3 separate regions of the Homo sapiens genome follow, and all the other regions are linked to region 1. Evidence: promoter capture Hi-C in 16 types of primary human blood cells and fetal thymus (Javierre and others, 2016). All regions are on one chromosome and are shown on one strand. The core of a region is centred on a gene start or on the middle of the fragment in contact, and the rest is flanking DNA. Distances in the headings are between cores, read along the strand shown. Region 1 holds the start of RET (ret proto-oncogene). Region 2 has its middle 53 kb from the start of LINC01264. Region 3 has its middle 13 kb from the start of LINC02623.

The links. Contacts are between HindIII fragments. The CHiCAGO score rates a contact against its expected background, and 5 or more counts as called.
Region 2: a fragment that was not itself captured here is called in contact with the fragment with the promoter of RET in region 1 in 2 of 17 cell types (M1 macrophages and M0 macrophages); the score reaches 6.3 in M1 macrophages.
Region 3: a contact is called between a fragment that was not itself captured here and the fragment with the promoter of RET in region 1, in 4 of 17 cell types (M0 macrophages, M1 macrophages, M2 macrophages and 1 more). The highest score is 11.4, in M0 macrophages.

What each region holds. Positions count from the first base shown.
Region 1 is chr10:43,075,582-43,078,581 of GRCh38, reverse strand. It overlaps RET (ret proto-oncogene), which reads right to left and starts at 1,513. Exons shown (of 20, transcript NM_020975.6): 1 at 1,251-1,513. The coding sequence starts at 1,323. RefSeq lists enhancers at 168-1,158, 1,467-2,324, 2,190-2,456 and promoters at 1,291-1,589, 1,291-1,974. The HindIII fragment of the contact is 20,268 bases long and covers 1-3,000 here.
Region 2 is chr10:42,927,101-42,930,138 of GRCh38, reverse strand. No RefSeq gene overlaps it. Among named protein-coding and RNA genes, the nearest start is that of LINC01264, 53 kb to the left of the region's middle. The HindIII fragment of the contact is 2,575 bases long and covers 499-3,038 here.
Region 3 is chr10:42,882,775-42,885,615 of GRCh38, reverse strand. No RefSeq gene overlaps it. Among named protein-coding and RNA genes, the nearest start is that of LINC02623, 13 kb to the right of the region's middle. RefSeq lists an enhancer at 1-88. The HindIII fragment of the contact is 2,238 bases long and covers 154-2,391 here.

The DNA.
Region 1 (3,000 bases), core at 264-2,763:
CGTGTCTTCCCCCTGCAGCACTGGGACCCCAAAGTCCTAACACTCAGAAAAGATAGAAAGGCAAGGGCTTCTCCCCTGTCCCTCGCTAGGTGGACTGGGGACCCGCTCTGGCCTCAGCATATGCTGAGCTGAGGCGCAGGTCACACAAATGAAGTCTCAGGCAGGCCTGGAAACTCAGTTTGTGCAGGGCCTGGGGCCAGAGACAGGGTGACTGACCATGGCTTCTTCTGTTCCCAAAGGCTGTGGGGAGAGAAAGCCCTTTGTAAGGAGTGAGGGAGGATGGCCAGGGCTCCTTCCCTCTTAGAGGGAAACTTGGTTCATACACAAGCGCTTGGAGGGGATCAAGTCAGGGCCAGTTTGAGGGACACTTAAACGCGTGCCAAGGGGTCAAAGATTCCACAGCCTTGCGGCTCACTCTGCCAGAGTTTGGGTGGGGTCGATGACCATCTTTGCAAGGCCACACCTAATGCTGGGATCCTAAGGCACCTGAGGTTTCACCAGGCCCAGCACCAACGCTGGCTGGCGGCGCAAACCCCTGCCCCACCCCAAGCCCTGGGCCTCCTATGGCCGCATCTTCAGCATCTCTGCCAGGCAGCGCCACACGACTCCAGGGCTGCCGGGTGGGACGCCTATCACGGCGGCCCCTCGGGGGGAGCCACCCCAGAAACCACGGTTTTTAGGTGTTTAAAGACAGGGCGGCAAAAACGCACGAGGGAAAAGCAATCTTTTCAAAAGAGCCTCCGAATCCCTCGGCTGGCCAGGACGGCAGAGCTGGGGGAGGAACGCACGGACGCTGAGCGGGAAAAGGAAACCAGGACGGAGCCGTCTCCTGCCGAAACAGAACTCTCCGCACGAATCGCGGGCTTTCGGGGCTCCCTGACCCGTCCGCCAGGTCGGCCCCGAAACGGCTGTCCCGTTTGCTCCAGGACGCGGCTTTGGCGCAGGGCGCGGCCAGATTGAGACCTGCGGCTATGGCTAGGGTTCTGAGCACCGACCCCCGCGGCCCGGCCCGCGCTCCGCTCCCGCCCGAGACCCGCCCAGCCCCGGCCCGAGGCGCCCGGCCCGAGGCGTCCTGCCCTTCGCCCGCCGCCCGCCGCAGCCACTGCGCTCCCAGCCGAGGCCGGGTGGCCGGCGACCGCACAGCCCGCTGCCCACGGCAAACAGAAAGGCGCTTCTGAACGCGCCCGCTCCGCTGCTCGGCGCCAACTTCGCCCTGGCCCCTGCGGGAGCCGGCGGCCGGCAGAACTCACCTTTGCCTAGCAGCGGCAGCAGCAGCAGCAACAGCAGACGCAGCCCCGCGGCACCGGACGTCGCCTTCGCCATCGCCCGTGCGCGCTGGGGCCACGGCTGGAGGGACTGCGGCTAGGGCCGGCGGGTCTGGATGGCGGGTGCGGCGCTCAGTCTGGCCGCCCCATCCCCGCCCGGGGCGCGGCGGACGCGACGGACACTGGGGGCGCGACGCACGTTCCGGGGCACTCAGCGCTGCTGCGCGCCCTGCTTCGGTCGCGGGACTGAAGCGAGGTAAGCGCCGGCTGCGCCGGAGGAGCGGGTAGGGGCGGGGCGGGGCGGGGGCGGTCCAGGGGTGGGCCAGGCGGGGCCGGAGGCGGGTGGGGTGCGGGAAGGGGCGGGGCTCCAGTGCTTGCTCTGGCTGCGCGGGGTGCGGCCGGGGCGCGGCGCGTGTAGGAGCTCAGTGCGGGACGCGCGGCTTGGGCCGGGTGGGGCTTGGGGAGGAGCGGGGTGCGGGAGCGGGGTGCGGCCGAAAAGGGCCCGGCAGGAGCCGGGTGCGGACCCCGAGGTGCGCGGCGGGGATGGAACCCAGGAGCCCGGGTCCGCGCACCTACGCAGAGCCGCTCTTCCTACCCGGTGCGCGCCCGCTTGCAGTCCCTGCCTTTTGCCCTTTCCGCTGCACAGAGAGGGCAGGGATGCTACGCGGGATGCAGGTCTGGCCGACTGGCTCGGGGTGCGACCCCGCGGACTCAGAGAAGGGCGCCCCGCCTCCAGGCTCTCCGCGGAGCGCTTGCTGCGCCATTTCTCAGAGGCGAGAGGCGCAGTGGGAGCGCGGCCTCTGCTGGGGCCGGAGGCAGGAGGCGGGGAAGAGCTGAGCAGGGGAAGAGAGGCAGAATAGCCTTTTTCAGCATCCTGGGGTAGTAGAGAGGGTAGGGTCCTGGAAGGGCAGTTTGTGATTCCCCCCTCCAGCACTGGTCCAACCCTTGGAAACCGGAAACTGGCTCCGGCGTCCTTTCAGAGACCTGGTGCTGGTGGCCCTTGCATCCCTTACACAGGAGAACTCTCAGGAGATGGGCTGGCAGAGTCGGAGAGCGAGTAGCGAGGAGGAGGAAAGAATCCAATTTTCCCCCAAAGAAATGATGGAAATGATGCGCATAAACACATTTACCCCTAATAGGGAGCAGCAACTGGACCTGAGAAGGGGTTCTGGGTGAGGTTGGATGTGGGCTCAGTGGGGAAGTCCTCTGTTCTCGCCCCATCCCCGGCTGCTTTTTGAGGTCTGGCCTGCACTTAGGCGCAGAGGGATGGAAGAAGGGAAGCCCATGGGCCCTTGAGGAGGAAAAGCCAGGGAACCTGGGCCCAGGGCACCCTTGAGCCAGCCGCTCCCTTGCTTGCTGTGTGCAGAACCCCGCCCTCTTGCCTGGCTGAGCTCAGGGCTGAATAAGTGATCTGCACATCACTGCAGATATGAAGTCAAAGTGAAGTCACCCTCACAGGCAGGAGGGGGAGCTGCCAAGACAGAGGCTGGCTTGCACTCAGCCAACCGTGATGTCCAGACCTGGCTTGCTGAGGGGCAGGTGGCCGGGGCACAGGCCTGCCAGCCCAGGAGAGACACTGTGGGCCACTGGACTCCGGCTGCCTGCCACACCCTTCCAGTTTATGGAGCTAGAGTTGGCCACAAGGGGCTCCCTTGGGTTCAGACAGGTTCCATCTCTGGTGCCAGTGGCTACCTAGGCTACACACTCAGGCCTGTGCCCAGGGAAGGGACCTGAT
Region 2 (3,038 bases), core at 537-3,036, 150 kb after region 1:
GACACTTTTCTGGACAGCCAGGGACGAGGGCAGTGGCCTTCCAGCAGAGCCACCTGCCGCAGCCTGACAGATTGATGTAAGGAAGGTGGAAACAGTCTGTTCCTGGCCTTGTCCTACCAGGGGAGGAGGATTGAGAAATGTGTCTGGTGTTGGTGCTACAGGAGAATGCATAAGTAGCCAATTCACTTACTGGAAAAGAAATGACCTAATCTGCCAAGCGGCCTGCATCCTAATGGGCAGACCATGCGGCAGAGTGGGAGGGCAAGCAAGGGGCCTGGCCCATGCCCTGGGTGGGGTCTGGGGGACCGAAGGCCCTTGGGCCTTCAGTCTCCACCCTGTCTGGCAGGAGCAGAGCCCCTTTGAAAGCAGCAGTGATTCTGAAAGTGCCACTCTTCAAGCCAAGAGCCCCCCATACCAGAGTCAAATGCACCCAAGAAGGAGCGGGACTTAAAGTGAACTCAGTGAGGGCGTCCCAGACAGGAAAGAGCCAGGAAAGCTTCCATGACAATGAAGCCCACTGTGTGTTTTTCAGAGTGTGTCCATCTTTCTTTTTTCTTTATTATGTCAGTAACATACAGTTGCCACAAATAAATAAGCAAAAAGGGGAAATAATAGACTCCTAGTAGCCCCACACACAGATGTGATGTTTGTGTGGGTGCCGCAACCCAGCGTTGGGACCTCTCTGCATGGGAATCACCTGAGGTTGTGCTGGGCTGCAGTTCTGTGATTCTGACAAGCTCCCAATGATGCAGAAACAGCTGGTCCGGGGACCACACTTTGAGTAGCAAGACCCTCACAGATGTTTAAAAATGTGTAGCATATACATTTTTGTTCTAAAATGTTTCCATTAAGTACATACTATTTTATAACATGACTCAATTCAGTAACTTATTACGACTTTTTTCCCACACCCGAAATATACTTCAATAACATAATTTTTAGTGGCTACTCAGAATTCCATTGTATCTAAGTTCCAGAACTTAGTTAACCAATCTCCTGTTATTGGACACAGGTTGTTTTCAACTTTATTATAAATAGCCCTTGCAAAGATCAACCTTCCACTAAATCTTACACACATCCTTAATTATTTCTTTAGAATTTCAGTAAGTAAAATTAAAGGCATTGCATAATTTTAGAACTTTCCATATGGATTACTAAACTGTCCTCTGAAAAGGTTTACCAACTAACACAGCCACTTGCAGTGTCCTGGTCACTCTCGTGTTAAACATTCCTGCAGGTAAGTAAAATGGAGTGACATTGCTCCATCAGAGAAGTCATACTTTCCCTGATGAAAAGCCTTGCTTCTCGCTCACTTATGACACATATATTCACCACCTGCTGTGCCGTGTGGCATCCTGATAAGCACTCGAGGGGCATGAAGATACCCAAAAGAGTCCAAGAAAAAACAGAGGCCTGATACAAACCATCCAAGCTCCCAAATTTTCTCCGAAGATGCTTAGATCTCTAAAGAGTTGCTCTCTGGGAAGGGCCTTCTGGGAGCCTCTATCTGTTGCCTTTGACTTACCAATGAGGCACCTGAAGGCAAGCAGCATGGTGAGCTGCGCGTCTTGGATCTCTAGGACACCAACCCGGATGTCTACCCTCCCATCCTTTCCCATTTCCCCGACACGTCGTCAATGCCCTTCACAGGCAGCACTCAGCTCCTCTGATGCCCCACACATATATTGGCAAATCCCAGAGTCCCAGGCTGTCCTGGAAAGGAAGAGGCAGCTATCCAGGGGGCCAAGAAAGGAGGTCCTGCGAGGTAAGAGGAGGGCAGCACGGGGCAGGCTACAGGGGCTGAGACATGGTATTGGCTCGAGAGGACCCACAGCTGTGTGTGGTGCTGGTCCCCAGGTCCTGAGGACCTGAAAGGCGCCTGCATGGAATGACCTGAGTCGGACTGCGCTGGCCTCTGGTGCCACCGGCCCTCCTGAGTCCCCGGCGGGCTGCTTGAGCCAAGGGGGGATGCTGACAGCAGCCCTGGAAGATGAACTCTCCAGGGCCTGTGAGGACCAAGGATGTCCAGCTGGTGGAAGCAGTAAGGGAGCTGGTGGCCACAAATCCAGATCAGGGCTGCAGGGGACAGTCACAATGGCAGACCCAGGAGACAGGCTCAGGAGAGCTCAGGAGACCTGTGCCTGACAAGGAGGGGTGGGAGAGTCAGCTGTCATGGGACATTTTCTCTTGGGCATTTATTATAGGGAACAGAAAAGGCAAGTTTTAGGGCAGACATGAAGAGAATAATCCAGGATGCTGAATTTGAAGTGCCTCTGGGACAGGCTGGTGGAGATGTTTGGGAGGAACTTGAACAAATTGGTCTAGAAAAGTAGGTCACTTAACCTCTCTGAATCCCAACATCCTCTTCCGTAAACCAGGGACCAGAGAGAAGACAGGCTGGGAGGCCTTGGTTTCTGAGGGCCTGAGGCAGCAGGAAGGGCAAATGCCCAGATCAGCAGCATGGGGGAGGGCTCAGCAGCAGCTCTGCCAGGGTTTCAGGTGTTCCCTGGGTAGGTGGGAAGGGCTGGGGAGGAGAGGTTGCCAAGGCAGAGATGGGGGAGAAAAGTAGACACAAAGCAAGGAGCTGTCGCTGGAGCTGAAGGAGGAACACTTCCCCAAGAGACACCCATCCTGGCTGCAAATGCAGTTTCCCTCTGACCCACAATTCCATCTCCAGGAATCTGTGCTTCAGAACCATTTACACAAATGCTTGAATATGCTTTAAAAATATTCCGATCTTCTGTAAGAGAGAAAAGTTGGAGACAGCCCCAGTGCTTAAAGCAGTACTTGGCATACAGTAGCACTTCATAAACCATGTGTCTAATGAATGAATGAGCTCAATCTCACTAATAGGGCTATTAATCAATTCCAGGGGGAGCTCTGCTGCCATAAGAAAGTGAAGTAGACTCACATTCAGAGGTGGCCATGGGGTGCTGTCATGTGAAGAAAGACACCACCCTCTGCTTCAGTGAGCAGGAGCTCCTCTCTGAGAACAGCTACGTGTGCCTATGCATACCTATTACACAGGCCTATGTGCA
Region 3 (2,841 bases), core at 23-2,522, 190 kb after region 1:
TATCACCATCCTCTTTCAGTGGGAGAAAGGAAATTCCAGCTGGGTAACTTCAACCTGAGGACTTTGTGCCTCTTCCCTCTGAACTGCAGCTGTCCTGACTGTAGGAGGTGACTACCTCCACCTTCCCAAAGTCCTGGGCTGAGACAGGAAGCTTCCTAGAAAGCTAGAGAGGCATGGATGTGTCCCTGATGGGCAGCCCAAGTGCCCTCTGCCCTCTGCAGGGTCCAGGGTAAGAACTGGTGTAAAGTTGGTCCTCAGCAAGGGAGAGTGCTGCACGCTTCCTGGAGGAGGCAGCTGGGAACTGAATCTTTTTTAATTTTATTTTTTATTGACAAATAATAATTGTATACATTTATGGGATACAAGGTGATGCTTTGATATGTTTACAATGTAGAATGATTGAATCAGGCTAATCAACAATCCATTTCCTCACATGCTTCTGAAGGAAAAATCAAACATTGGTGGTCAGTGGGGATGGGTGAACTGGGCACAGGGACTGCTAGTGGGACATGAAGTCATGAGATGCTGGGTCCTTTGAGGGTGGAGACATCTAGCATGGAGCTGGGGACCGAGAGTGTCTCACCAACAAGCCTGGCCTTGATTGGACACATTAGGGTGCTCTGAAGACCTCTGCATGAAGGAGCAGAGGGAGAGACCAGGACAGCTCAGCCCCTGGACAAGCAGAGCAGGCAGAGGAGGCCATGGGCATTAGCCTTGGGCCTCCAGATGCCATGCTTTCAGGCCCAGTGCTCAGACACACCGCTGGTTTCAAGGGAGGAGGGGCAGGCCAGGTGTGGGGTGACCCTGCTCACCTCACTCCCAGCACCTGAGGGCCGTGCTCCTGCACCACCCTCCGCAGAGTCCCCAGGGCACCAGGCTCTGGGGCCTCCATCAGGATTCAGAAGCTGGATGAGCTTGTCAGTCTCAACCCTGCTGTGCTTGGGTATAACCACCACCACCAGCCACCCTGGTCCCCACCCAGCCCTAACCCATCCCTCTCCCTGCCCCCTGGGGACTCAGAGAAACAGGTGCCCCATGACCCCTCCACTCAACTTGCACGGACATCTCACCTTAAACAAAACCTGGCTTTCACTGATATCCACTTCCCCTGAGCAGCCCGCTCCCTTTCCCCAAGGCTTTTGTTCCCTTAAATCCCAGCTCTCCCCTGTAAGCAGACGGAACCCACAGTCTTGCAGGCTCATTAGGTCTGAGTGGTCTCTCCACACCACTGCCATGGCCCATAGTAATCCAGGACTCTGGCGTGGATTCACTTGGCTCTACCTCCAGTCTTGCCAAATTCTGGGGGGCCTGATGTCTATCTTGATGGTTCATCCACACAGCACAGCCCATCCTCAAATGCTGAATCCAGCATCCCTGACCCACTCCCCACACTCCCAACAGGACTCCATCCTTGACCCACGGCCCCAGGCCCCTTCCCCAGGCCACTGCTCTTAGCCTCCCTGAGCTCTCCTTCTCCAGCCCGGCTCTGCCTTCGGCCTCTTCCCTGAGCCTGTTCTGTGCCTCTTTTCCTAACATCTGCTGTTGAACGCAGAGCTCATTAATTTGCCTTCTATCTTGTTCTCTAACACAGCACTTAAGGTTATAAATTTCCCTCTAGTGCCATTTTACCTGCATCCCATGAGAGTCAATATATGCTGCTTCTATCATTGCTTGGTTTATATCTTTTGTATTTTCCATTACCGTTTTTCCTCGGGCCCGTGAGTTATTGTGTTTTCCAGATGTAACTGGGCTCAAGGCAGTCTTCCTGTGATTGACTTCTAACATTATTGCATTGTGATTAGAGAGCATGTCCTGCTTATCATCTCTGCTATTTGTTGAAGCCTCCTTTGTGGCCACCTTCATGGTCAGTATTATAAATGTTCCATCTGTGCTGGAAAAAATGTTAATGCCCGGCGCATGGGGTACAGGATTCTGTATCTGCCCAGCAGCCCAAACTTAAAATCTGTATTTCAGATCTATTTATTTTCATGATTTTTATTCTGTTTGATGCAAATTTTAGAGTGAGGTATGTTCAAAGTTCCCACCATGCCTGGGGACATGCTAGGTTTGCTGTTGTCTCACTGAGGCTGGTGGCTGCATCTTCCAGGTGCATGACCTCCTTCCAAGTTACCTGGTACTGCCCTCCACCCCACCCCATGCACCTCTCCCTGCCTTACTGGTCGCTTCCCACACCCACTTCCTTTCTGTTAACACTTCATAGCAGATAGCTTGCTTTAAAAACAAAACAAAACAAAACAAAAATGTAAAAAAACACAGCCTGAGAATCCATGTTTCGAATAGATGAGTTTAATCTTATTGAATCCATCCCTATACGTTTTATAAAATTAATTAGGAAAGAAGGGAGGGAGAGAAAGGAAAATAAACCAAGCTTGCAGTGTCCTGAGTGTTGGCTTCTAGGCCAGCTTGCTCTCTGACCCTTCCTCACTACCATTCCATGCATACTGCCTCAGAATCACCTTGTAATCCGTTACAAGGCCCCAGTTCCCCTAAGTTCAGATAGATAACAACTATCCTCTATAGATAGCAACTTGAACATTGTGAAGTGTTAAGTTGTCCACTTGAGATATCCTTCTAGGTCCTGCATACCAATCAAACAGCTGATTCCATCTGGTCTGAGGGACCCCACAAGCAGCTGACTCACCAGAACATACAGTGTCCACACCCCGATGATTGCATCCTCTTTAGCCCCACCAATCAGTGGCCCCAATTTTCCACCCCTTGACCTCCACGATCCTTTAAAAACTCCAGCCCAAAACTCCTCAGAGAGATGAAGTGAGGGTCCCTCCTGCCTCCTCACTCAGCTGCCCTGAGATCAGGAAA